Linked DNA regions of Homo sapiens: regions 1, 2, 3, 4, 6 and 7 are each linked to region 5. Evidence: promoter capture Hi-C in 16 types of primary human blood cells and fetal thymus (Javierre and others, 2016). All regions are on one chromosome and are shown on one strand. Each heading gives the region's core, a stretch centred on a gene start or on the middle of the fragment in contact. The rest is flanking DNA. Distances are from core to core; before and after follow the strand shown. Region 1 overlaps MMS22L (MMS22 like, DNA repair protein). Region 2 overlaps MMS22L (MMS22 like, DNA repair protein). Region 3 overlaps LOC101927314 (a long non-coding RNA gene). Region 4 has its middle 2.4 kb from the start of SIM1. Region 5 holds the start of POU3F2 (POU class 3 homeobox 2). Region 6 holds the start of MMS22L (MMS22 like, DNA repair protein). Region 7 overlaps LOC101927314 (a long non-coding RNA gene).

Region 1 (2,700 bases), core at 146-2,645, 1.6 Mb after region 5:
TTGATGAGAGGTAGAGATGGAATTAAAGAGCATCATATATGGGAGGAGCCAGTATTCCAGGCAGGAGACTTATGCACACAGCAAGTTTTGCTTTTTGCCTTTGCTTCTTAAGGAACCTCTAGTAGTGCCTGATAGTTGCTGCTGTCAAAACATTGTATTAAAAAGCAGGAGCTTTAAGGTCAGTAAACCTGAGTTCAGATCACCCTCTTTCATTTACCAACAGTGCAATCTTAGGAAGTTACTTAATCTTTTCTAAGTTTCAGCTGCATCTTTGTAAAATAATATCCACCTCATAGGATTTCCATGAACATCTGCTTAGATTTCTGCTGTCCAGTAGGGTAGCACTAGCTATGTGTGACAGTTTAAATTAGTGAATATAAAATAAAAAATTCAACTGTTCTGTAACACCAGCTATATATTAAGTCCTCAATAGCTATATTTAGTTAGTGGATAATGTAGTGGATAGCAGCAGAAAGACTTGCCAAGGGATAGCACTGACTTTGATGCTGCACCTGTCCAGAACATGAATCATAATAAGCTTTCAGTACATTCAATACATGTTGGTTTTCTTCATTTATCTTTTCTTCATTTTTTTGTGAATAATATTCATGTCAAGAAGCTTCATGTCAAGCTTCTCTTGAAATGCATGCTTGTACATTTCAAGAGAAATGTATGCTTATCCGTGTGTTACCAGTTGATATGGTTTGGCTCTGTGTCCCCACTCAAATCTTATCTCAAATTGTAATCCCCACGTGTCGAGGGAGAGACCTATAATCCTCCATGTGTCAATGGACAGAGGTGATTGGATCATGGGGGTGGTTCCCACATGCTGTTCTTGTAGTATTGAGTGAGTTCTCACGAGATCTGATGGTTTTATAAGCATCTGGCATTTTCCCTGCTAGCAGCTCTTCCTCCTGCTGTCATGTGAAGATTTCTGCTGTCCAGTAGGGTAGCACTAGCTATGTGTGACAGTTTAAATTAGTGAATATAAAATAAAAAATTCAATTCAGGGGTCCTTGCTTCCCCTTCACCTTCCTCCATGATTTTGGGTTCCCTGAGGCCTCTCTGGCCATGGGGAACTATGAGTCAATTAAACCTCTTTTCTTTATAAATTACCCAGTCTAGGGTGTTTATGGCAGTGTGAGAACCGACTAATACACCAGTCTTGAATAATCTCTATTCCTGTTGAATTTCCTGAATAGTTACTAAATCTCTAATGTCCTTTATTGTTTTTTACCTTGTGTTGTAATTATTTTCTAAAGGGGAGACATATTCATGAAAAACAATTTATTCAACAAATTTAACTAGTATTTTTGAATGCCTACTATGATAGTAGGCACTTAGGATATATCAGTGAACCAGTCACATGAAGCATATGTAGTATGCACTCATGTATTTTTTACATGAAAGACTAAGATGGTAGAGAGGAAGGACAAAGAAACTTGTATTTATTTAAACCATCACTTTTTCACCATTTCATACTACTTGCTAATGGTTTATACTTGTCCTGAAATTTTATATGCTTATCCAACAATTCTTGCCAGTGTCCATATGCAAGCAGACAACAGTATCCATGCAGTCAGGATATGGATTTAATGCATAATCTGAATTTCATCTCTGTGTTTATTGTCTTCTAAGTACCCATGGGTAGAAGGGACCTCTAGAGGATGATAGGAGGTTTGTTCTTCCCAGTTGAAAGGTTTTCGGTGTTATTGAAAAATTCAGTGTGTTTTCCTTAGTATTTTCTGGATGACTATTATTATTTTATCTTTCTAATTCACTAGTTATCATTGAATTTTTTCCACTGAACTATGGAAACAGGTGCAGCAAGTGGGTCCTTTGAGCCTTTACCTTCCTTTTGAGACATTTCGGAACCAGTCTCTCAAGGCTGGGTCTGCAGGAACACTTTGAATCTACAAGTGCAGATTGTCTGTATTGGGATTAGAGTGGAAGGAAGGCATTTGGAAGAGGGAACTTAGAAAATGGAATGAAGGAAATAATCAATAAAACAATTTAAGAAAATTTCTCAGAACCGAAGATTCTGTAATGAAAGGGCCTATTGAGTGACTCCAGCACAACATAAGAAAATAGAATCACAGCAGGGTCCATCTGTGAGAAATTCAAAATACTAGCTACAAAGAAAAGATATCAAAGCTTTCACAAACGTTCCTCACCCTTGTTAGTCTTCTGGTTTTTTATTTGCTATGCCCCTGATTATAATCTGTAGTTGTAATCTAGGTCAGAGCTGATATTTAACCCCAGTTCCTAATAATTATATAATTAACGTGGGAGGTGAATGAAGCTTTATAATTAGATTTTATTTGGCTGGGTGCAGTGGCTCACACCTGTAATCCTAGCACTTTGGGAGTCTGAGGCAGGCAGATCACCTGAGGTCAGGAGTTTGAGACCAGCCTGGCCGACACGGCGAAACCCCACCTCTACTAAAAATACAAAAAATTAGCTGGGCGTGGTGGTGGGCACCTGTAATCCCAGCTACTCAAGGGCTGAGGAGGCTGAGGCAGGAGAATCGCTTGAACCTGGGAGGTGGAGACTTCAGTGAGCCGAGAATGCGCCATTGCACTCCAGCCTGAGCAACAAGAGTGAAACTCCGCCTCAAAAAAATAAATAAATAATGAATTAAAAATAAAAATATATTAGATTTTTTACAAGATTACTCCTACTTTCAAGAAGCATAGAATA
Region 2 (2,920 bases), core at 265-2,764, 1.6 Mb after region 5:
GAAGATTATATGCATAGGATCCCTCCCATAATGCTAGAAAGGATATTTAAAAGTTGTGTTGCAGCGATCTTCGCAGCTTTGCTCTATATATATAGATCTGAAACATCCATTGCCATATTTAAAGGTATATGATCTCAGGCAAGTGGATAGAGAGGTTGCCAGGTAAACACCCTTCTGTTAGTGCACAGGAGTAGCTACTTGGAAAGCCATCTGTATGAAATCTATGCTAGTTTAAAATTCCTAGGAAGGCCTGAATAGTAAACTGTTATTTAGGATAGGTGGGTGAGCTCTATTTATGTCCTTTCCAGCTTGAGTGATTACTCAGTTGTTTAGTACACAGCAAAATATATGTAAATATTGTCATCTGTGTTAAGTGCTAAGTAAAAGACAAAGGTATGTTGTTATAAGAAGAATACAGTGGTCTCTTGGTTTACTTTCTCCTAATTGGCAGTGAACATGTGTCCTCTGCTATATGTAAGCACAAAAATGTTACTGTGGAAACATTTGTAGGCTTTCTAAAAGTATTGTTCGAGGGAATAAGCTAAGACTGATATTTATCTTAAACACATAGCTTGTCCAATATTTAAACCTAATGGACAAGATGTGTACCAGTTGAAAATGTAATATTTATCCAGTCATTTCTATTCTGTCAATCTAGGCTCTAAAGCAATAGATTGCACTCATAGAGTAATAAATTTTTAGTGAATTTGGAGATAAAGGCTATTGGTGGTGATTGCTTAAACTCTTTTTGCTCAATCATCTGAATGGTGCAAATCAAAGCATTTTGTCAGACTGTGAGAAGTTTCACCTAGATATTGCTTCCCACACACGCGGGTCACCATATAAATTACATTCACGGTTTTACAGCATAGCTGGTGCTGGAAGTTAAATTGATGCCCAGTGGTGGAACTCGTAAAACATTTTCCTGTTAACACGACCAGGCAGAGTTGACATTGTTGATGGTGGGTTCGATCTAATAAACTATTGGGTCTAACAGTGATTTTTACTGTGTTTCAGAGATGATGATGATACAAGTTTAGTGATCCAGCAGTTCTTCCTGAATGACAGAAAATTAGCTCCACTGTCTATATTACCAAATGCTGGGAAGAGTAAGAGTAAGAGGTGATTGAAGCCTAACGTAACCACATGTTCTGAAAGATCATGAATTATAGGAACAAGCTCTTTAACTCAGTGTATACCTTCTTTATAAAGAAAAACACTGATTTTTCTCAAAAGAATATATTATATATTATCTGTTGGAAATACTTTATTATTACATTATTATTCAAATATGTAGGCTGTGTCCACCTTTCACAATCTTTTACACAGATGTTGTAAGCTGATTATTGTTTCTGAAAGGAAAGCAGGTTTACATTTTGGTTACATTTTTTTCTGTGTGTTTTTTAAAGTTACTTTCTTATAAGGACTTTAAGCTTTATCAAAGATTTTTAATTTTGAACTACAGCAACAGTCAATCTAAACATCTTATTCCCATAAGAGTAACTTTCAGGGGTTAATTTCTACTGGCAGTTACAAACAATGGGTACTGTCTTAAGATTTATTTTGAACTACTTTTGCATTGTTCTTAAAGCTTTATGAAACTTTGTCTTATTTGAAAGTAATTTTTTTTTCCAATTTCTAGTTAAAATTCACAGGATGGTAACAAAGCCCTACTCTTTTATCAGTGTAAGCAAGTATCTTTCCATTTCTTCCTTGTTTGACATTATATCTGCTCCTATAGCACTGTTGCACATTCATACTGAATCGGTGATCTTTTTGTAGTTTTGTTCCATTTTATGAGATATCACAGGTCTTTTACTCACCACTTTAACATTTCTTATCCCAGCATATGCATGGATTTTTTTTTCATCAGGAGATGAGCTTTTTTGATGTGCAGATAAATGTTATCAATGGTGCTACGCAGATGAAACCTGTCATGTACAAATAGCATGTATCAAGCCCTAAGCATGCAGATACCAGATAAATCGGTTCATTTGCTGAAGCCTTGCAAAAAGAAATTAGTGCTATAATAAACGCCTTTGAGGCTCTCAGCCCTAATAATGGAGCTTTATAATAAACCCCACAGATCATTGACTCAATGGATAATCTTTTAGGAAACTTTTTCCCCTCCTCTATCTTTTCCTCCCTTTTAAAGAACTACAGTAAAAGTGGTAAATAGCATCTCTATAGGGAATGTATGTGGTATGAAACTACATATCTGGAAAACCATAATTTAAAATTAAGAAATTTATTTACTGCTAAATATGATATTATTCTAAACGAGCTTATACTTTTTGATGATTTTCATAATTGATCTTAAACATGTATTAGTCACTGCTTTTTCTACATAGAATTCATATTAAACATTCCTCCTAAGTTAGTGCATTTTGTACATGAGGTTACAGTTGGATTGTTGACTACAACAGAGGCACAGAGTGAGGAGATCAAAATAAGGCAGAAGAGGAGTCAGGGAGAGAAATTGAGAGGAGGCATTCAGCTTGTACTTAGAAGTGTTTATAAAGTGGTAGAAAGCAGAAGAAAGGGGATGGGGCTTATACACATTTATGTATACACAAAACTTTACACATAATTTCAAGGAGTTTGCAGATTTCTAAAGATTATATATGTACTGCAGGTTTAGCACTATATTACAATGGTGACTAGACTGTTATTTCCATTAGGGTTTGGTTATACTTTTGATGAATAAACACTTTAAAAAATATCCCTAGGTACTTTTTGACTCTTACTTGACTGAGTTTTGAAATCCAAAAAGAAAAAAAAAAACAAGTCACTATTGGAGCTGATGATGAGGTTTGTAGATCCATTAACACAATTGGCAATGGTCACTAGTTTCTGGTTGTATAATTTACTGCATTTTTTGAGTGTGAGAGAAGTGTTGAGGATGCAGAATGCTTAAGAG
Region 3 (2,802 bases), core at 248-2,747, 1.4 Mb after region 5:
CTGTAAAAAGTTTTGTAATATTCTTATTTATTTAAAAGTAAATATGTGTTTTACTGTACTGATATAGAAATTTTTTTAAATTCATCCACACACCAAAAAAAAGAAGTTTTAAATGAGGTCAAAATAATTTTTAAGGAAGTTTTATATATTTATTTATTTCTGAGACGGAGTCTCACTCTGTCACCCAGGCTGGAGTGCAATGGCATGACCTCAGCTCACTGCAGCCTCTGCCTACCAGGTTCAAGAGATTCTCTGCCTCAGCCTCCTGAGTAGCTGGGATTACAGGCATGCACCACCACACCCAACTAATTTTTTTTATTTTTAGTAGAGTTGGGGCTTTGCCATGTTGGCCAGGGTGGTCCCAAGCTCCTGACCTCAGGTGATCCTCCTTGCTCAGCCTCCCAAAGTGCTGGGATTACAGGCGTGATCCCACCATGCCCGATGTAGGAAGTTTTAATAGTATCTTTCTGAATGACAAGAGATCATCTTGCACAACTTACTTTGAAAATCCTTTTTCATTACTTACTAATCCACTCCATGCATCCAGAATGAAGCCAGAATTCACATACAGACTTTTTAATAGAAACATCATTTAAAACACCTAAAGAAACAAGTAAATTAATCTGTAGCAGAGCTCTGCTTATGACTCAGAATGTCTCTATTTCTTGGGTGCTTCAAAAATCTAGAGCCAAAGTTTATTTAATAATTATAGATAATAATAATGGCAGAGGTTTGATCATTTCTATTCTAAATTCTATTCCAAAATGCAAGTTTGTTTTACATACAGAAAGTCATATTGTTCTGTTTTTGTCCCTATAATCCATTCTAAACATCATACTCTATTTATCCTTTGCTCCATAGATCTTTTAATGACCTTTGGATGAAAGCAATAAAATGATAACTTGATGATTGCCACACATGCACAACAGGACATAAATTGAAGGTAAAATGTATCGGTCAAAGCACCTAGTCTGCTTCTCAGTCACTGCATAAATTTTCCCAGTGACATACTAAATAGTTAAATACTCACTTTTTTAAAAATAAATGCATATTCTAAGATTTCCTGCATCTGTATATTTTCATAGCCACCTTATTTTCCTTGTTCTATTACTAGCATATATTCCTCATTCTCTTGAACAAAGTCCCAATAGCAGTTGAACTCTAGCAATTTTAACTAACCCTAGTAATCTACTTTCAAATCTTTAATCAAAATATTTTTCCCTGCAGTTGATGAATATTTGCTCCTTCACATTTGTACAATGATTTTTTTTCATTCTGTCATTTAGAGGCCACAAACCTTAAAAATGTTAATCTGCCAATGAATAACTCTTGGGTGTTGATGCTATTAAAGTTAAAGGCAAATAGGGCTGGAATAATCAAAAGTGAATTATCTCTAACTAGATGTTATACTTGTATAAAACTAAATGATGACTGGGCGCGGTGGCTCACGCCTGTAATCCCAGCACTTTGGGAGGCCGGGGCAATCACAAGGTGAAGAGATCGAGACCATCCTAGCCAACATGATGAAACCCCGTCTCTACTAAAAATACAAAAATCAGCTGGGCATGGTGGTGCGCACCTGTAGTCCCAGCTACTCGGGAGACTGAGGCAGGAGAATCTCTTGAATCTGGGAGGCGGAGGTTGCAATGAGCCGAGATCGCGCCACTGCACTCCAGCCTGGCAACAGAGCGAGACTCCGTGTCAAAAAAAAAAAAAAAAAAAAAAAAAAAAGTCTAAATGGCAAACTAATTATTTTTAAGTAAAAACTATGGGTTTCATGAGTTATTTTCCCCAATTTCAGTGTAACTACTAACTTTGAGAAAGTTTCCTCACATTCAGTATTTTGTAGAAATCCATCATAAACTTGAAGATGGTATTTAAGTTTATTATAATTGAAGTAATATCAGTAAGATGGTAAAATAAGAAGTCTCACTTCTCTTTTCCCACAGGGTCACTGAATTAACAGCAACAAACAAAGCAAAAATCCTTTTTGAGAATTCCAGAAAAACGTTAAGAAGTTGCAGTACCCCTCGTGAGCACAAAGCTAAGTACAGCAACATTGAAAAGGGTAAGAAGGGCCATTCCATTTTATCCATGATTGTTCCTCCAAGTCAGCACAGTTTAGGTTGGCTCATGGCTTTTCCTTTAAGGGCAAAGAGAAGAGTGTACATCTAACATCCTGGCTTTTTGGAAGACAGCCCAAGAGACTGGTATCTGTTTTGCCTGACTAAAAGTACTAACAGAACCGCATAATTTGGATGCCTGGAGGTCTCTTAAAGCAAAAGCAAGTGGCCGGGCGCGGTGGCTCAAGCCTGTAATCTCAACACTTTCGGAGGCCGAGGCGGGTGGATCACGAGGTCAGAAGATCGAGACCATCCTGGCTAACACGGTGAAACCCCGTCTCTACTAAAAATACAAAAAATTAGCTGGGTTTGGTGGCGGGCGCCTGTAGTCCCAGCTACTCGGGAGGCTGAGGCAGGAGAATAGCATGAACCCGGGAGGTGGAGCTTGCAGTGAGCCAAGACGGTGCCACTGCCACTCCAGCCTGGACGACAGAGTGAGACTCCATCTCAAAAAAAAAAAAAAAAAAAAAGAAAGAAAGTGGGGAACCATGTGGTGCTGCAGGTAGAGGCTGTTAGGGCTTGGTACAACTGGGACAAGATTTTCAACTCATCACTTCTCCCTTGGGAAAGAGGAAAAAAGTAAACCAGACATTTGGCATTTTGGCTTTTTGGAATGCTGCCCAAGGAACTGGTATCTGTCTCATCTGACTTGGGAAGCTAGTGGAAAGCTACCATGCTT
Region 4 (2,700 bases), core at 95-2,594, 1.6 Mb before region 5:
AAATATACTTTTCAAAACGTCCTGATCAGACAAGTAATATTTACCATAACTTCTAAATAGTAAATATGACCATATTTTGGGGGGCTCCTTCTACACTTTGTTTAGGGTCAAGGCTACAAGTGGCCCTTGTTTCTGCCTCAACATCATAACGACTCTCAGAGATGTAAATGTCTAAATGTGGTAAAAATAAATGAGTCTAGGACAGGATTACGTTAACTAATATACTTGGAACTAGAAAATGTTAATATTTCCTAAGACAATAATATGTCCCTAGATAACTTGTCCTTTTCAGTGACAGAGTGAACATCTGGATGTAACATACTGAGATGTTCGAGTGACCATCTTCAGATTTTGTATCTTGGTTATAAATATATCCTTCATCCTGACCTTGGACATTGAGCAAAATCCATGTGTGTGTGCTTTGTGCAACTGTGCATGTGGGATGTGCGAGCATGCAAAAGTGTATGTGTGCGTCCCTAGCAGTCTGCAAAAAAATAAAGAGAATGGTGGTGGACAGAAATCATTCTAGTTTTGATAAGATGCTCAAACAGCCTGGAGCAAAGAAGAGTCATTAGAGGAGTTTTTGGAAGGCAGGGTGGAGGTCTGTGCCAGAGCAAGGGTCGGGGGCCGAGGCATTGAACCCCGGTTCGGCGGTTTGCACCGGAATTCCAGTATGTGTTCACTCGTTCTTTTACAACCGAAAGTTCACCTTCTGTAGTCTTGATTTTGCCTTTTGCGGGGAGGGGTCAGAAGGCCCTTGAGGTGCCCGCTCCCCCTTCTTTCTGGGTGCGCGCGGCATGCTAGACATTGCTCACAAAGGCGCGTTGGTTCCAGAATCTACCCGGCCTGGCTCCCCTGGGGTAGAGTCACGGACGCCTGCATGTCCTGGCCTCCGGGGTCCGGGGCAGGCTCCATGAGGGCAGCATCCTGGGTTGCCCCAGAAGTGGCAGGGACTCTTGGGGGAACAGTGTCGCCATCACACTAGGCTGTTCGCCCTGCTTGGTGGGGGAAGGAGGGAGACACTTTTTTGCAGCCCCGCATGGGTTTTCTCCCACATCAGGATCGCATTCTGGGTGCCTGAGGGCCAGAGGCTAGGTTTTAAGGCCACCGGCTCAAGGAGGTGGCGGCCTAGACTCTATAAGGATCTCTATTTGGGGTTAGTGGGTCGCCCGTGACCGTCTCTTCCTTTCTGGGGCTTTTCTCCTTATATTGGCAAAACGATTAGTCTCTGAGCTTCAAGAAATTCATTTAAAATTTCCCGTGCTAGAGGCGAACGTAAATTCGCAGAACACGTGGGAGGCACCTGAGGTTCCGGTTCACGGTTCACGCCTCCGGCTACAGGGCGCGTGGGGGGCTGGCAGGCGGGGTCGTGGGGAGGGTGCAAAGCCAGGTCCCTGGGCCCGGGAGGGGGAGTGAAGGAGCAGCGTTCCGGCTCCAACCTAGGTTCAAAGATTAGAAAAACAGGTGTTACGTCGTCATGCTAATTCACTCTCTCGGTAAACGCGGCTCAGACAGTTGTGTGCTGAGGACTTAGCGAGAGGCCGTCACCTCGTGGTCGTGCATTCACTTTGTTTATTAAACGACATCTACTTGGCTCATTGACAACTGAGCTTCACTGGGACATTGGAACAGCCCGCCCAGCCCCCCAGGACGTCAGCCTTAAGCGTGAAGACTTCCTTACTCATTTTGCCCATCTTGCTTCTGAAGGCAAAATTACTGCATTTTTTCTTCTGGAAACCCAGCATTACCTGACTCCCTACCTCCACCCCCCGGAAGTCCCTGCTGTGGACACAGGTTTCAAACCCCAGAGAGGCACTTCCACACCGGCATGTTGTTTTAAGTAGAGATAGGGTTAGAGTAACCGCGGTCTTGACTGAAATCCTCTCTAGAACACAGTCGAATGGAAAACCTCCTCTTAACCCTAAGTGTCATTGCTTCGCCTGGCAGCTATATGTGACCTGGTTGGAGGGGAGAGGAGGGTCAAGAAAGGTTATTTCCCCTCTCCACACGCACCCTCCACCCCCGACTTTACATGTAGTAGCCAACTTGACCTTATCTGATCTTTCTGGAATCTTGTGTATAAGTGAGCCACAGTGCATCTCTCGCTATCTTCTAGCTATGTCTTGTTAAAAGCGCATCATTGGGTGGTTGGAAGGCGCCCAGAACCAGATCTCTAAGTGGCTACAGCCACTGGGGAAATGACTCCTCCTAGATTAGAGTCCATTAGCTGGATTCCAGTTTTGAAAGACCTACAAAATCTCCGTGCTTCTTTCTTTTTCTTTCTATCCAAAACTTTCACCTCCTCCAGCCAGGTGTTGCCCAGATATGTAAATAACACCAGAAAGCTGCTGTTGTCCTTCTACGACTATCTTACTGCCATCGGGCGGCAAGGAGGTGGCAGATGTCTGTATTTTTGAACAAACACTCTTAAAGTTGTTCTGAATATCAGCAGAATGGCACACACCCCTCTTCAAAGTATTTATTTTCTCAGTGGCAATTAGCGCCACAAACGAGAGGATGAGTGCCCCGTCACTGGTGTTCTCACTGATTTTTATGGTAGATGAAACAACTCCCTCCAAACGCACCTCTAGGAGCCGAATCTGGTCACCGGCGTACCAAAACCAAGCCGGGAGTCGAGTCTGTAGGGGGTGATTCGTGAGGACAACAATTGTTTTTGGGACAATTTGACTTTTTCTTGAT
Region 5 (2,700 bases), core at 90-2,589:
TGTCTATGCTCGTGGGGCTGCCCGAGGACGAGTCCGCCTCCTCCAACCACTTGTTCAACAAAGGCTTCAGCTTGCACATGTTCTTGAAGCTCAGCTGCAGGGCCTCAAACCTGCAGATGGTGGTCTGCGAGAACACGTTGCCATACAGGGTGCCCAGAGCCAGCCCCACGTCCGCTTGGGTAAATCCCAGTTTGATCCGCCGCTGCTTGAACTGCTTGGCGAACTGCTCCAGGTCGTCCGAGGTCGGCGTGTCCTCGTCCGAGTGCGGGTCGTGGTGCGCGCCTGGGTGGCCAGGCGGACCCTGCGGGGGCGGCGGGGGCGGCGGCTGCTGGTGTGGGTGCGAGTGCGGGTGCGGGTGGTGGTCGGCATGGTGTGGCTCGTCGTGCGCGTCCCGCAGGCCGTGGTGGTGCAGACCGGCCGGCTGCCCGCCGGCGCCCAGCATGCCGTTCACCGTGAAGCTGGGCTGCGAGTAGAGCAAGCCGCCGTTGGACGCTCCCATGGAGGGTGGGAGGTGCGCTGCAGCCGCCGCGCTCCGCCATGCCCCGGGTCCCGGGTGGTGGTTAGCGGCGTGGTGCACCAGATGCGGCGGCCGCTGTTGCTGCTGCTGCTGCTGCTGTTGCTGCTGTTGCTGCTGCTGTTGCTGTTGCTGCTGCTGATGCTGCTGCTGCAGGGCGCCTGGCCCGTGCAGCTCGTCTCCGCGGCCGCCCTGCTGCACCACCACCGAGGGCTTGATGTCCGGCTGGCCCAGGGGGCTGGTGGACCACGGGGAGCCGTCGCCGCCGCCCCCGCCGCCGCCCCCGCCCCCCCCGCCGCCGCCACCGCCCCCGCCGCCGCCGCCGTGGGACAGCGCGGTGATCCACTGGTGAGCGTGGCTGAGCGGGTGTCCGTTGCTCTGCAGAGCGCCGTAGTCGCCCTGCACCAGGCTCTGCGCTTCGCGGTAGCCCCCCGCGCCCTGCTGCATGCCGCCGGGCGGCTCGGCGTGCACGATGGAGGCGCTGGAGGTGAGCAGGCTGTAGTGGTTAGACGCTGCGGTCGCCATGACTCTCGGAGCCGGACTGAGCGCTCCGGTTAAAGGAGCCGCGCATTTGACAGTTACTTTTTCGCCTCGGGCTCCCTCTCCTCGCTCGCTCTTTCTGTCTCCTCTCTCTCCCACAGCGGGCAGCTCCGACGCCCGCTCCGACGCCTTCTGTTGCTGCTCCTGCTATTACTGCTGCTGCTGCCGCCGCCGCCGCCTCCCGCCCGCCCTCGCTCTCTTTCTCCTCCTCTCCCTCCTTCTCGCTCTCGCTCACTCTCTGACTAGCTCGGCGCTCCCCCCTCTCCCTGCTCTCTCCAGCTCTCTCCCGCTCTCTTGGCAGCGCCGGCTCGCAGCGGCACGCGCCTGGGCCCCGCCCCCTCCGCCCCCTCCCATTGGCTCCGCGCCCTTTGATTTACGTGGATACCGCTAGCAACCTCCCAGGCCGGCGCCACTGATTGGCGCAGAGCTACTCCCTCCCCCTCCCCCGGGCTCGGAGTCCTCCTAGCCCTCCTCCCCGTCCCCTTCGCCTCCCGATTCAGATTCTCTCAGTTCTCACCCCCCCGCTTCTTCCTCACCCGGGGCCTCCTCCGCCCTCTCTCGGATGGGCCCCGCCCCCCATCTGTCTCCCAGGCAGAGAAGACCGGCAGGGGGGCGGTCCCGGTGCTCTTATCGGCCACAGACACTTGGAAGACTTGGATTGGGGTGGGGGGCGGGAGGCAGTGGTGTCCACTTTCGTTTCCCAATAGGGCTTTAAGATGGGGAAACGGAGGGGGTAAGGGAAAAGCTGGGTCGCACCGAGCCAGCGGGAGTCGGATTTTTATTCACCTAGGGACACACACACAGTGTGTATCTCTTAAACCTAGAGCCAAGAGCCAGACCTGTTCCCCTGTTCAACTCTCCTTGCATCCCACGGTTAGAATTTCAGTGCACAAGTGTCTCTTGCTCCAGGGTGTGCGGACACTTCGGCCCAAAGCTCTTCTCCTTCCCCTCTACCCCGCGGCTAGCACAGGCTCTCTTCCTTTTAGGTTCCAGGCCCAATTGTCTCCCACTCCCTTGGGGAAAGAACCCCGAGAGAGGCAGGCTCAGCCCGCACCGCGGCTTGTAAGTCATTCCCATCAAGGCTCGGAGTTGCTTGCTCTGACAGCGTAGCGGTCTGAACTGAAAACCAAACAAAACTCTAAAAGTCTCTCCGTCAGATTCACACGCCGGCGCGTGCAGTTTTTGGTTTAGAAAACTAGAAGCCTGCGTGGGCTCCGTCTTGTGCGAGGCTGCCGGAGTGCTGGCGAGGGGTGTGCGGCCTTGTAGGGGCGGCGCAGTCGCCAAAGGCCGCTCCGGGAAGCCGCGCGGAGGGCCTGCGTGCGCGATTCCCCGTGCTCCTACCGCTGGTAGGTGCAACTTTTCCGTTAGCCCCTTGGGAAGGAGGAAGAGTGTGTGAAGCAAATGGGCTGATGCCAGGGGAACCTTCCTAATCAGTAACTTCGGTGGGCGCTAGCGGGTGGGGTTAGTCTATGTCTTTGGCGCTCCCTGGCCAAGCTCCCAGCTCAGCTTTCAGCAGTGAACTCCAGAGCAAGACTATGGGACCATGCACCCGCAGCGCCGCTCTACGGAGCGCGGGCGCGTCGCGCCATCAGTTCTTTAGCCGCCCAGAGCAGGTGCCGCCTGCGAGTTTCCGAGCCTGCAAGCCC
Region 6 (2,810 bases), core at 215-2,714, 1.6 Mb after region 5:
TGGCTAATATTTGTATTTTTTTTGTGGAGACAAGGGACAGGGTTTCACCATGTTGCCCAGGCTGGTCTGGAACTCCTGGTCTCAAGGGATCCACCTACTTCAGCCTCCCAAAGCCACTGTGCCTGCCCTGGCCTGAAGTTTTCTTGTAAGAAGTGGTGTGTGTGTGTGTGTGTGTGTGTGTGTGTGTGTGTGTGTGCAGAGAGAGAGGAGGGAGGCTTAACCAAAGATTCTGAGTACTACGATAAATACAGAGATACTCAAATTTTCTTCTTTTGTTGATTTTTGACAGTTTGCGTCTTTTAAGGAATTTGTCCATTTCACCTATGCTTATTGGCATAAAAATGTTCATAATGTTCTTTTAATATCCTTGTCCTTTTAATGACTAAATTTCATAGTGATGAAACCTTTTTAATTCCTGATACTGATAATTTGTTTATTTTCTTTATCAGTTTGGGTAGGGGGGTTATCAATTATATTGCTCTTTTAGAAAAACAACTTTTGCATGTATTTCCTTCCATTTATTTCATCCCATTTATTTCTACTATTTATCATTTCATTCATTTTGCTTGCTTTGGTTTCAATATGCTGGGGGTTTTTTCTAGTTACTTAAGACAAAAGTTTATTGAATTGAGTTCTTCTTTTTAATGTAAGCAGGTACTGTTACAAATTTTAGTGTTTTCATTTTAATTTAATTCAACGTATTTTCTAATTTTCCTGTGATTTTTCCTGATTCACAGGTTAGTTAGAAGTATGATTCTTAATTTCCAAATATTTAGAGTATTTCAAGTATCTACTTTATTTCTAGTTTAATGCCATTATGATCAGACTATACACTTTGTACGATTTAAATCTTTTTAAAGTTGATGACATTTGTTTTATGGCTCGGAATATGGTATCGCTTAGTGAATGTTTCATGTGCACTTGACAGGAGTGTGTATTCTGCTATTGTTGGGTTGGTCACCTATAAACGTCAATTAGGTCAAGTTGGTTAGTGCTTTCCAAGTTTTCCATATCCATACTAATTTTCTGTCTACTTGTTCCATCTGTTACAGAGAAAATTAATTGTTGCACTTGCCTGCCTCACAGTCCATGGACAAAAGGCATCTGCATTCTAACAAGAGTTGCTGGCCCCAGAGCGGGAAGAGGGGACGGCGCGACTGTGGGTGTGAACGAGGCACTCACTTCGCACTCACTGGAGTAAATATCTTCTCTTTGGTCCGGCCAGAGGATAAACCCATAGTCCTTAAGTCCTCTCCTCCGCCTCAGCAGCAGTTCTGTTTTTTTTTTTTTACCAGGCCCCGCCTTTCAGCCGAACGCACCAATTAAAGGTACAAAAAAAAAAGTTTCTCAGTACCTCGTCCCGGACTGACGGACTCTCGCGAGAATTCGTGGGGCTCCGACTGTTTCCGCGCAGATATCGCGAGGCGATTGGTAGCCGGGGGAGGGCTGCGCCGTGGCCCCGCCTTTCCGGAGCGCGGGCGCGCGGTGGCGGGAATTTCGCCTGTTTGCGGTTTAGACCCCAAAGATTCCTGTTGGTGGTCTGGGTCACAGGAGGCAGGTTTCGGGAGCTGGAAATGTGAGCGGGTACGACAGGCACCGCGGGTAACCGACGCCCCGGGTCCTTGCTGCAGCCGGGTACGCGGGATACCGGCACCCCGCCTTCTCCGCCCGAGTGCTGCCAGGCGTGGGCCTGGTGGGTCTCGCCTCCTCCTTGGAGGGTCGGGGTTGGCCCTAGGGGTTGCTTTCCTAATTTCCACCCCGAGCCGGGGAGGGAGCGTTCTCCACCCTGCTGCTGGGAAACGGGCGGAGAGTGGTTTAGAAACGTTGCGGAGGGCGCAGTTCTAGGCAAGCCCGGGACGCTATGTCCTGCAGACATTTCTTTGCTTTTCACCTTGTCCTGGGCTGCAGAGCCCGACTTAGTGGCCGGATTTCGAGGTCCCTGCCACAGCCAGTTGGTTGTGCATTTTGTCTTAAGTTCTGACAGCCTTGATGGACGGAGGGCGAGGGGGAATTGGGAATTTGGCCTCTGGGTTTGTTCGTTTGTTTTTCCTTCCTGCTGGCGGACGTCTTGAGAACTTTCTGAAGTAATCCCCACTCTCTCGGCCCCACCCCCCCCCCCCCAACAGGAATCTCTTCACACCTTCTCTTTGGAGCCCTTAATGATACGACGAACCCCAAGTGTTTCAGAACATGAAGTAAACAATGGAGAACTGTTCTGCTGCATCGACGTTCCTGACTGACAGCTTAGAGCTGGAGCTGGGGACGGAATGGTGCAAACCTCCTTACTTTTCTTGTGCTGTTGACAACAGAGGAGGAGGAAAACATTTTTCTGGAGAATCCTACCTCTGCAGCGGAGCCCTTAAGCGGTAGGTAAAACTCAGAGACATTTTCCCTCATCTGATTATTCACCAGTTTTTTAGGAATGTTAGTTATTTCAGCCCATTAAACTTTGGTGTTCACCAAGTCGTGTTTTATAAATCAGCTTAGTATATCATAAGGGTACAAATGATTATCAGTTCTGCTGGCTTCTTGGTAAGGGCATATCTAAAGTATTTGGGGTATTAGGGAAAACTTCCTTGGTAACTGATGTTCCCTTACTGTAGGGAGCTGGGCACTAATTTTTCTTCTACTTAAAATGAATTCCTAACTATCTGAGCCTTTTGCAGTAGTATTTCCTTCTAAAGAGTGTGATAATATTCTAGAGCTTTCCAGTAATATTTAAGAGAGACAAACATTTTTTATTGCCCCTGTTCCTTCTAATCCTACCTGCACATATAGAAGTGTATAGACTTATTTTGCCTTGGGCAGGT
Region 7 (2,700 bases), core at 67-2,566, 1.4 Mb after region 5:
GGCTTCTTCCTTCAATAAATTTAATAATGTTGAAGTATGATTGACAGGAGGTCAAAGTACATAGTTCCCTTCCAGAGAACTTCAGTTTTCATTCCTTTAAAATACCCATGCACTACAGGTAGATTGCCACTAGGTGGGAGTAGTGCTCAGTGAAGCAGTGTAAGCAGCCAGAGCACCTCGATGTGTTGATATCCAAGCATTCATTCATTCAACAAATCTAGAAGTCTCTTTTCTAGGCTGCTGGTTCTTTGCACCCAATTCCTCACAGATTTAAAAGCATGTATTATCAGTATTTTAGTCAGAGATAATTTCTTTCTTAAAAATTATTTCAAAAAGAAATGTAATTATTATGTGAACAAGTATCAATACACTTTAAATTTTTAAAAGAAATTAGAATTCTATGATACATGATTGATATCTTACCTCACTACATATTAGCTGTCCAATTAGCAGTTTACTCTAACTCTACAGACCCCAAAATGGAATTTACTATATTTCACCCTGGACTCTTTAATCTAAGATCAATTTCCCCCTAGTTGGATTAGTCATCCCTCTGATTCTCTCAGTTTAAGAAACAGATCTCAAAGCAAAAGAGGTGGCCTACACCTCTCTAATGGTTCCACTAATGCTGTTCATCTCACACTCCTCAAATCTACTTTCAGGTAACAAGGCACCAAAAACATAAGAAAAGCATTTATGGCCAAGGAAGTACCCTTCTTCCTTTCTGGACTGGTCCCTCTTTCTCCCACTCAAAAGGAACCATTTATCTAATTTTTATACATAAAATGTTTACTTCGATTTTCTTTATGACATTGCTCCTTCCATCAATAACTTCTTCATTTAAATATAAATAAAATTAGCTACTAATGAACAGATCTAGTACTTGTACCATTCAGCAACAGGACACTTTTTAACAAGACAAAGAAATTCAACACTTAAACAACTAGAGTGAATAACAAGAGGTTTAGAAAGTGGCAAAAAATTACCTCATCATACCTTGTGTTATCCGCATTTTAATATAAGTAGACCAAAAAAGTGTCATGAGACTTTAGGGAAATATAAATAACAATTTTCAATTAACACTTTTGATTCTGAATCAAACAGCAAGCAACCTGTGATTTTCCTTACTGAGAGGTTTCCTTTTGAAAATTATCTCCACTCACCTTTATGTCTTTGTGTGTTCTGCCTGTGTGACATATATTTAAAAATCAGTATCTATACAATGAATGGGATTCAGATTTACTATTTTCTATTTTGTACAACACATGTCTGCAACAAAACATTATTTGCCTATATATGTGTATGAGTTAATAATGAGTTCTCAGGACGCTTGACTTCCTTAACCTACTTCTGCTCCTCTATGTCATTTTCCCTCCCCATCTCTTGCTCCCACATCCATTTCCCTCCTCCCTTCTAAGCCTCTATTCTCAGTTGTCTCTCCTCAACCTTCTGCTCTGAGCCTAAGACCTCATTATCTCTGCCCCAAACATTTGATAATCTCCTAACTCCCTTCCTTCTATGATCTCATCCCACAAATCTAAACTTAACTTCACAGAAACCTGGCCCTATCACTCAAAAGTCCTCAGAATTCCCATCACTTAGAAATAAAGCCTAGATTCCTTAGAAGGAAATAAGGTTCTTTGTTTTCTGATCTCTACCTTCCTCTGAATAGTGTCTTCCACCTGCAATTTAAAATCCAGCAATTCCTAATTAACCCAAGTTCTCTAATCATATGATTCATCCTTTCACATCTCTAGAACTTTGCATGAAATTTTTTCTTGTCTGGAATGCTTTTGACCTCACACTCCACAGCCTTTTGGCAAACCTTTATTCATTCTTCAAAGCTCAATTCATTTGCTTTCTCCCTGAAGTCTTCCTTATCCCCCCGCCCTGACCCAGCTTTCCTTCCTTTCGTCCTTCTGCTTTCTTTAATATCTTATCATTACTAAAATATTTACAGATTAAATTAGCCCTTCCATTTCCTTAATTATATTTTATGCATGGAGGAGTCATGAAAAGATAGACATTTAGTAATATCAGTCCCCCAGGAAAATTTTTCAAAACTTTTAAAGCTATGTATAAAAATAGTGGCTGGGTGTAGCGGCTCAACCTGTAATCCCAGCACTTTGGTAGGCTGAAGAGGGAGTATTGCTTGAAGCCAGGAGTTCAAGACCAGCCTGAGCAACGAAGTGAGACCCCTATCTCTATGAAAAATAAAAAATAGCTGGGCATGGTGACACATGCCTGTGGTCCCAGCTACTCGAGAGGCTAAGGCAGGAGGATCACTTGAGTCCACAAGTTTGAGGCTGCAGTTAGTTATAATCACTCTATTGCACTTCAGCTTTGGTGAATATAAATATATTAATATGTAATAAATATAGTAATATATTTATTATATTTATATCGATAGATAAACATGTATTTATGTATGTAGATCTTTTAACTATATATGTAGTATATAAATACATATAATATATGAATTTTTATATATATATACATAAATATATAAATATATATAGACTATATATATAGTCAAAAGATCTACATACAAGTGCACTTTGATAAATTTTGCATATTTATAAAATATTTAGGGAAAATGTTGATTAGACGATTTATTTCAACATAACATTAAAATCTATGTCCAAAATGCAATTCCTATAGGTAAAACAAATCAAAAAAGCCTCTATAGTTCCCCAGATC

The links. The method cuts DNA at HindIII sites, captures the fragments that hold promoters and counts their contacts. A CHiCAGO score of 5 or more calls a contact.
Region 1: a contact is called between a fragment that was not itself captured here and the fragment with the promoter of POU3F2 in region 5, in 4 of 17 cell types (total B cells, naive CD8 T cells, naive B cells and 1 more). The highest score is 7.7, in total B cells.
Region 2: a contact is called between a fragment that was not itself captured here and the fragment with the promoter of POU3F2 in region 5, in 3 of 17 cell types (total CD4 T cells, naive CD4 T cells and M2 macrophages). The highest score is 8.6, in total CD4 T cells.
Region 3: a contact is called between a fragment that was not itself captured here and the fragment with the promoter of POU3F2 in region 5, in 9 of 17 cell types (total CD4 T cells, total CD8 T cells, naive CD8 T cells and 6 more). The highest score is 14.7, in total CD4 T cells.
Region 4: a contact is called between a fragment that was not itself captured here and the fragment with the promoter of POU3F2 in region 5, in 2 of 17 cell types (naive B cells and total B cells). The highest score is 14.1, in naive B cells.
Region 6: a contact is called between the fragment with the promoter of MMS22L here and the fragment with the promoter of POU3F2 in region 5, in 2 of 17 cell types (total CD4 T cells and total B cells). The highest score is 8.2, in total CD4 T cells.
Region 7: a contact is called between a fragment that was not itself captured here and the fragment with the promoter of POU3F2 in region 5, in 1 of 17 cell types (naive CD8 T cells). The highest score is 6.1, in naive CD8 T cells.

What each region holds. Positions count from the first base shown.
Region 1 is chr6:97,217,178-97,219,877 of GRCh38, reverse strand. All of the region lies in intron 14 of MMS22L (MMS22 like, DNA repair protein), which reads left to right. Among named protein-coding and RNA genes, the nearest start is that of MMS22L, 65 kb to the left of the region's middle. The HindIII fragment of the contact is 1,523 bases long and covers 634-2,156 here.
Region 2 is chr6:97,199,564-97,202,483 of GRCh38, reverse strand. The region is part of intron 14 of MMS22L (MMS22 like, DNA repair protein); the gene reads left to right. Among named protein-coding and RNA genes, the nearest start is that of MMS22L, 82 kb to the left of the region's middle. The HindIII fragment of the contact is 158 bases long and covers 1,436-1,593 here.
Region 3 is chr6:97,480,924-97,483,725 of GRCh38, reverse strand. The region is part of intron 1 of LOC101927314 (a long non-coding RNA gene); the gene reads right to left. Among named protein-coding and RNA genes, the nearest start is that of MMS22L, 200 kb to the right of the region's middle. The HindIII fragment of the contact is 6,453 bases long and covers 1-2,802 here.
Region 4 is chr6:100,465,929-100,468,628 of GRCh38, reverse strand. No RefSeq gene overlaps it. Among named protein-coding and RNA genes, the nearest start is that of SIM1, 2.4 kb to the right of the region's middle. RefSeq lists an enhancer at 385-976. The HindIII fragment of the contact is 3,319 bases long and covers 1-2,700 here.
Region 5 is chr6:98,833,213-98,835,912 of GRCh38, reverse strand. It overlaps POU3F2 (POU class 3 homeobox 2), which reads right to left and starts at 1,339. Exons shown (of 1, transcript NM_005604.4): 1 at 1-1,339. The coding sequence starts at 1,039. RefSeq lists enhancers at 1-25, 26-622, 621-690 and a silencer at 1,329-1,398. The HindIII fragment of the contact is 14,703 bases long and covers 1-2,700 here.
Region 6 is chr6:97,281,870-97,284,679 of GRCh38, reverse strand. It overlaps MMS22L (MMS22 like, DNA repair protein), which reads left to right and starts at 1,464. Exons shown (of 25, transcript NM_001350599.2): 1 at 1,464-1,584; 2 at 2,127-2,366. The coding sequence starts at 2,203. RefSeq lists enhancers at 1,188-1,247, 1,628-1,887. The HindIII fragment of the contact is 13,882 bases long and covers 1-2,810 here.
Region 7 is chr6:97,391,769-97,394,468 of GRCh38, reverse strand. The region is part of intron 1 of LOC101927314 (a long non-coding RNA gene); the gene reads right to left. Among named protein-coding and RNA genes, the nearest start is that of MMS22L, 110 kb to the right of the region's middle. The HindIII fragment of the contact is 7,266 bases long and covers 1-2,700 here.